Regions from separate parts of the Homo sapiens genome. Here region 2 is linked to region 1. Evidence: promoter capture Hi-C in 16 types of primary human blood cells and fetal thymus (Javierre and others, 2016). All regions are on one chromosome and are shown on one strand. The core of a region is centred on a gene start or on the middle of the fragment in contact, and the rest is flanking DNA. Distances in the headings are between cores, read along the strand shown.

Evidence for each region. The method cuts DNA at HindIII sites, captures the fragments that hold promoters and counts their contacts. A CHiCAGO score of 5 or more calls a contact.
Region 2: a contact is called between a fragment that was not itself captured here and the fragment with the promoter of JAKMIP2 in region 1, in 1 of 17 cell types (fetal thymus). The highest score is 5.0, in fetal thymus.

What each region holds. Positions count from the first base shown.
Region 1 is chr5:147,781,276-147,784,408 of GRCh38, forward strand. JAKMIP2 (janus kinase and microtubule interacting protein 2) reads right to left here and starts at 1,453. Exons shown (of 22, transcript NM_001270941.2): 1 at 1,181-1,453. The HindIII fragment of the contact is 4,284 bases long and covers 1,026-3,133 here.
Region 2 is chr5:147,454,121-147,457,337 of GRCh38, forward strand. All of the region lies in intron 1 of DPYSL3 (dihydropyrimidinase like 3), which reads right to left. Among named protein-coding and RNA genes, the nearest start is that of DPYSL3, 54 kb to the right of the region's middle. RefSeq lists a silencer at 1-108 and an enhancer at 1,827-2,328. The HindIII fragment of the contact is 650 bases long and covers 1,191-1,840 here.

The DNA.
Region 1 (3,133 bases), core at 203-2,702:
TACAACATCTGAGAGAACTGTGAAATGGTTCCTGGATACTGAAGGAATGAACATCAGATAGCAGCACTATTAAATAAAATGAATACATTTCACCTTCCAGCTTAGCTGTGCTTCCTGGGACACAAGGCACAAACATGAAAAGGTTGGGGTGGCATTTCAAGAAAACTGATTTGCTTCAACATTGATTTGGTAAGATGCTAGACACAAAATAATACCACAAACCGCCTCCCATTCCCATCATTGTAAATTCAGAGTCCTCAATATCATCCCCCACAAACCCAATTAAAAATAAAGAGGCAGGCTACAAATTTGCATCTAGTTCTATGACACAGATCAAACGATAGGCATCTGTTCCAATCGGTCACAATGAAACTAAGGGACAATAACCAGAGTAAATTTCACATTAATCCAAATAAAGCCAATGAATAATAATATAAACCAGAAGCATAGTTTCAAAAACATGCAATTACTTCCAGGCATGCAAGGACATATGTAACCCATAAAAATGGTTGCAAAGCACACCCTACATATAAATATGCTTCATAAATGCAATATAAATGCTAAGTGACATGTGTATATATGATCTGTATATCCATAAGATATACATGTGTAAGTTCACAGTCAAATCTACGTATAAAATAAAACTGGGTCTTGCAAATGATTTCTCAACAAGAGTATATTAGAATATAAAATAAAATGTCAAATTCTGGGGCCACTTTTTCTAAGCAATCAATAAAATAAGCAAAACCACCTTATAATGAGTCTGGTAAGCTTATGAGACACCAAATGTATTTCTGAAGAAGGCCCAACCCTGTATGTGAGAGCTGCAAATGAAATGATTCCTTTCAATAACACCCTCTTCTTGTTGTTAGCTCTTTTTCCAACCCCTGATGCTGTTGCTAAGCTTAGGAAAAAAGGCACCAAGTGGCTCAGTCTGCATTCTGAGCCAGTTAGAGATAAAATCAGAACACCATTTTTTTTTTTTAAACACAAGAGGTTGTCTTCTCACTTCTCTCTTCCTGGCAAGCTTCCTCTCCCTCCATCCTCATCTCTGTCTCCACATCTCCCCCTTCTAGTCTGAGGCACGGGAGTCATTGTTCAAGTTCAGGCCAGAAATGTATACACAGGTCAAATAAGAACACTCTAAACCAAGAAGGGAGCCCTACTGTTTCCTACTCACCATGCTGAGACCCGGAGAAGCTGTTTAAAGGAGGGAGAGATGCAAACTGAATCCATTTTCCTTGTGACCGAGTCGGATGCAGCCTCCGAACCCAACATCAGCAGTGGCTGCCGGTTTTTTTTTTCCCTCTGTCTCTGGTTGGCGATGGTGCGAATAGGAACCACCCTTCCAGCCCCACTAGAGTATCAGCAATAGAGGCGGCGGCGGCGGCAGCAGCAGCAGCAGCAGCATCACCAGTTGGGCCTCCTCCCTCTCGGAGGATGGGGTGAGCTCGGAAGCAGCCAGGAACTTGCAGCAGACACCTCCTCTGGCTCCTCCTCTCTCTCTCCCCCTCCCCCAGTGCCCCACCCCTGCTGCGGTAGAGGCTGCTGGCCCGGCAGCTGCTGGTTGCCATGGCAATGACCAATGATAAGCGACCAAGCTCAGGGGGAGGGGAGATGGGCGAAGCAAGCTGCAGGGTCTGGAGGGGAGTGAATTTGTGCTGCTGCCCTCTAGGATGCTCTTGATGTCTCCTACCCTGAACTCCAGGTCTTTTTAAAAATGGGGCAAGGGGGGCTAGGCACGGGGAGAGAATAATTAAAATTTAATTGAAATCTAGATAGAAACATACCAACGGCTTAGCTATTTTTTGCATTTTCTGTGGTTTTCCAATAAAAAGTATGAAATTTATTATCAGAAAAATAACAACAAATGTGGAGAAAATTATGTCGCATAATAGCAGATTATTATTACTTCCAAACGTGTTCGTCCTTTATAGCATCTTTTACTCAATACCAGGCAACAAGGTTTTTAGAAAGCAAACGGAGTGGCTGGACTTTGTAATAAATTAAGAGTCTGGTTGATTCCTTTGCACTACTCCCGGCTTGTTCTCAGGTGAGTTACTTGGTTTCACTGTTTTTCCAGCTACCCTTCTGAACAGGACTTGGAGGTAATTGACACATCCCTGAGGAAAAGTAAGTTTGGATAGAGACCGAAATTCCTTTCAACAACCACTATTCTCGGTAGCACAAGTTGGTGGACAGTTCCCAATCTTTTTAGTGTCAAACTCCTGGAGCATTCAATTTCCTGCAGGCAATTCCTGTCGTTTTCATGGATGCCTTTTTGGAGTTCCGAAGTCAGTTGGCAGTCAGGGTGGTGGGCAGGAAAAGGGGGAAGTGAAATCAGCAATGTCCAGTTCTAGGCGAGTTCTGTTTCTAACTATAAATTATAGATGACACCAGTATTTATCTCGTGGAGGGGTTGTAAAGATTGAATGAGATAATGCACTAAAAGCACTTGGCATATAGTAAGTGTACAATAAATATTTACTATTAGCAGCATAGTAGTACATTGCAGCCATCTCTTAATCTAAGGGTTTAAGGGGAATAACATGGCAATTTCAGGTAGGAGAAAAAATTAAGATGAGAAAATCCAAAGTACGTAATAACCATGATGATGATGGCAAAGACAGAGAGGCCCTAAGAGATTAAGTGTTCTCTACATCTTGATATTTGAGGACATTGTAAATCTCAGAGGAGTTAGATACATTTCCCAAATTCACAACTGATAAACGACAGAACCGGAATCAAAATGGACTCTTCTAACACTTACATTTGCTCTCCTAACCACCACACTTTTCTGCCACTCCTCCATAAAATGGAAATAATCTTTGTTCTTAATCCACAGAGTTATTTACAGGTTCAAATGGGTTTAACACAAGTTCCAGAGTCAGACGATCTAGGCTCCATTCCTAGCGCCAGTATTTACTATAGGTATAATCTGGAACATATTTATTAACTTCCTCAAATCTATGTTTCTTCATCTGTAAAAAGAAATAATCACAGAACCTCATGAGTCATTACAAAAATTAAACTAGATGACGTGTGTAAAATGTACGGTCTTTAGCAGATAGGAAATGTTCAATAAATGTAGCTACAGTTACTTGTTACTCATTTGTAAGTAACTAATATTAAA
Region 2 (3,217 bases), core at 266-2,765, 330 kb before region 1:
CCGAGTTGCGGGCGCCGCCGCCCCCAGCCAGCTCCTCGTCGGATCTCCTACCTTCCCCGCCCTAGTTTCAGAATGGAGACGGTTCCCGGCTTCCCTCCCGGCACCCGCTCTCCTCTGCCATGGCGCGGGTCGAATGCGGCGGCCGCGCCTTTGTTCGAGAGGAGGGCTGGGCGCCGCCTCTGCTGCTCGCGGGGTGGTAAACAGCGGCGCAGCCCCTTCAGACGCCGGAGACTGGTCCGACTCTGCAACCTGGCGGGCCTGCTGGGGTCCCCAGACCCGGAACATACACATTAGAAAATGGAAAGCCGTGACTCGCTCTCAGAGGCTGCAAGGGGCACGGTAGCAGTGGACTCAACCATTCCCTGTATTTAAAAAATATCCAAGTAGTATCTTGTTAAAGAAACTCCACTGCCTGACTGAGTCTCAGAATCAAAGAAAGAACATGAATGCTGCTCTGTGAGTAAAAAGTAGAAAACACCTGTGGAGTGGGAAGGCAGTAGCCCAGACACGTTCCTGGTGCGCAGCCATGGATTTGGAGTAGAACTGCTATTGCTCCCCATCAGTAATGAACCACGTGCACTGCTCACAATCCCGAGTTTACTTTAGGCAGGGCTGACAGACGAAGGTTTATATGTTATTACAAGCAAAACCATGGCCCTTCGGCGATGGAATACATTGTCCTTTAGCTACCTGCTAAAATCAAACGGCCAAAGGGAGACATATTTGGAGAGGCCACTGTGGGTGGGGTCTGAGTGGTGGCTGGGGGTGAGGGAGCTCCTCAACTCTCACGACAAATAATTCCAAACATAAAATTTAAGGAACCAAAAAAAGACTTGCTATGCAAAAAAAATTATAAAACCCTTTGAAGACAATTTTCCCACCGCTCCCCAATTGTCAATCTTAATGTTCTATTAAATAGAAATCCTGTATGTCACTAAGCATGACTAAAGCTGTGTTGAATCTTGAATTCACGTTTCCATAAGGCAGCCCACTGATGGCAATTCTAGACATCTTGTCATTAAAGTGAAGACGTGCTTGCGATAAAGAAACTATATAAGGCATCCACAGAAAGAGAATACAGAATACTCCGGCTTGGGCTTTCCATAAACCCGAAACGAACCAGACTGGTCACATAATCCAAGGACACACAAAGCCCCCCTTAAACACTCCCTCTCAAGTGAGTTAATCCAAGCTTCTGGTTATTTATGGTTAATTGGACTGAATGCAGTCTTCGCAAGAAAAGTCCACAGCAGTCTCCACTTTATTTCTGTGATACTCTGCAAAGGAGGATGAATGCCAAGCAAAGATCACCTCCCTATACTCTTGCAAAACACAAGGGGGAATAAAAAGACTGGGCCAAAGGCACGCCCTAAACATTTTGCTTTGTTCTTAAAGCGTAAGTGCTGAGACCACTAGCCAAGAGTTGTGAAATTACAAAGCATTCTGGGGATTGGCATGCAAATGAGCAGGATTATATTTAGAACAGAGTAAAAGGAGAATTAACTACATACTATGGAAACCAGCAGAGCTCTCTCTCTCTGCATCTTTCCTGTAGATTTTACTGCCCCAAACTTGCTGGAAAGGATCTTGCACATTTTTCTCAAGAAAAGCAAAAATATGTAGGGGACATTTACAATCCTAAAAAAAAAATACCGCTGCTGCTGCCTTTTTTTTTAATTTTACAAGTTTCTTTGCCTTTCTTACATCTGAGTTATCTCCTCTGTTACCATCATTATAATCCAGAACACTCTTTACTAAATAGATTTATACCATATTTTTGATCACTTGATTGTGTGTGTGTGTGTGTGTGTGTGTTGTTTCAAATAACAAGACTTGGTTAAGCTTTTTTGAGGTCAGGTTTGCATGCAAGAGGCCATGCTGAATGGCAATTGCAATGTGTTCTTCTGGATCCGGCTGCTGTGACCAGCCAGACACAGAAACACAGCAAATTGATTCAAGCTGTTGCCATCATCAGAAATGTACAACAAACACTATTTTCCTTGTTTCATCCCCTTCAATTATCTTTCACTTTCTTGAACCAAAATAAAGCCTCTAAGATGAATTTGAAGGAAAAAGCCTTCCTTGGCCATAAGAAAGGCAGCCATCAACACAGGATGCCTCTGTGTCTGGCCAAGAGAGAGAAGAATGGAACCAGTATGGATGTTTTCCACAGTAGAATGACTCTGAATGGTTTTCCTTGGATACACAGCAGTGCTTGGCTTTAGGTATCTCAGTAAACTGAAAGAGGGAGAGGAAGATGTAGAAATAGACTTGATTTACAGTCCCAAAGAAACTTAATTTTGGCTACCACACCTGCCACACCACAGATTTCCACACTTAAATCAATGGGTACTCCATTCCAGTTGCTCAGGCGAAAGGTTTGGCACCATCCTTGATTTCTCTCCTTCAATCATGCCCCTACTCTCCACAGACAATCTTTCAGCAAATGCTACTGATTCTATTTTTTTTTTTTTTTTTTTTTTTTTTGAGACAGAGTCTCGCTCTTGTTGCCCAGGCTGGAGTGCAGTGGGGTGATCTCGGCTCACAGCAACCTCCGCCTCCCAGGTTTAAGCAATTCTCCCGCCTCATCCTCCTGAGTAGCTGGCATTACAGGTGTCTGCCACCACACCTGGCTAATTTTTGTACTTTTAGTAGAGAGGGGGTTTCACCATGTTGGCCATGCTGGTCTCGAACTCCTGACCTCATGTGATCTGCTTGCCTCAGCCTCCCAAAGTGCTGGGATTACAGGCATGAACCACCGCACCCAGCCAGTTCTATCTTTTAAATGTATCCAGACTATGGTCTCCTCTCATGATTTGCAAAGTTTCTTCCTGTGTTTAGCCATCATTTGGCTATCACCTGAATTATTGTAACCTCCTAACTGGGTTCTCTTCCTCACCATCACTCATTCATTCATTCATTCATTCATTCATTCTCAAAATATTCACACAATATTTACCTTGTGCTTACTATGTGCCATTATTTTTATCAGTGTTAGTGCAATGGAGGTGAATAATAAGTCCCAAATATCATGGAGTTTACTTCGTATTCTTCTTATTATATAATAATAACGCATATCCTTATTACACCACCTGTCACTTGCTAGCCCCCTTTCCTGCTTTATCTTCATAATACTTTTTACCACATGACATATTAATTTATTATTGAATATTCTCCCCATCACCAGAATATAAGCTATTTGAGGGTATGTGATGTG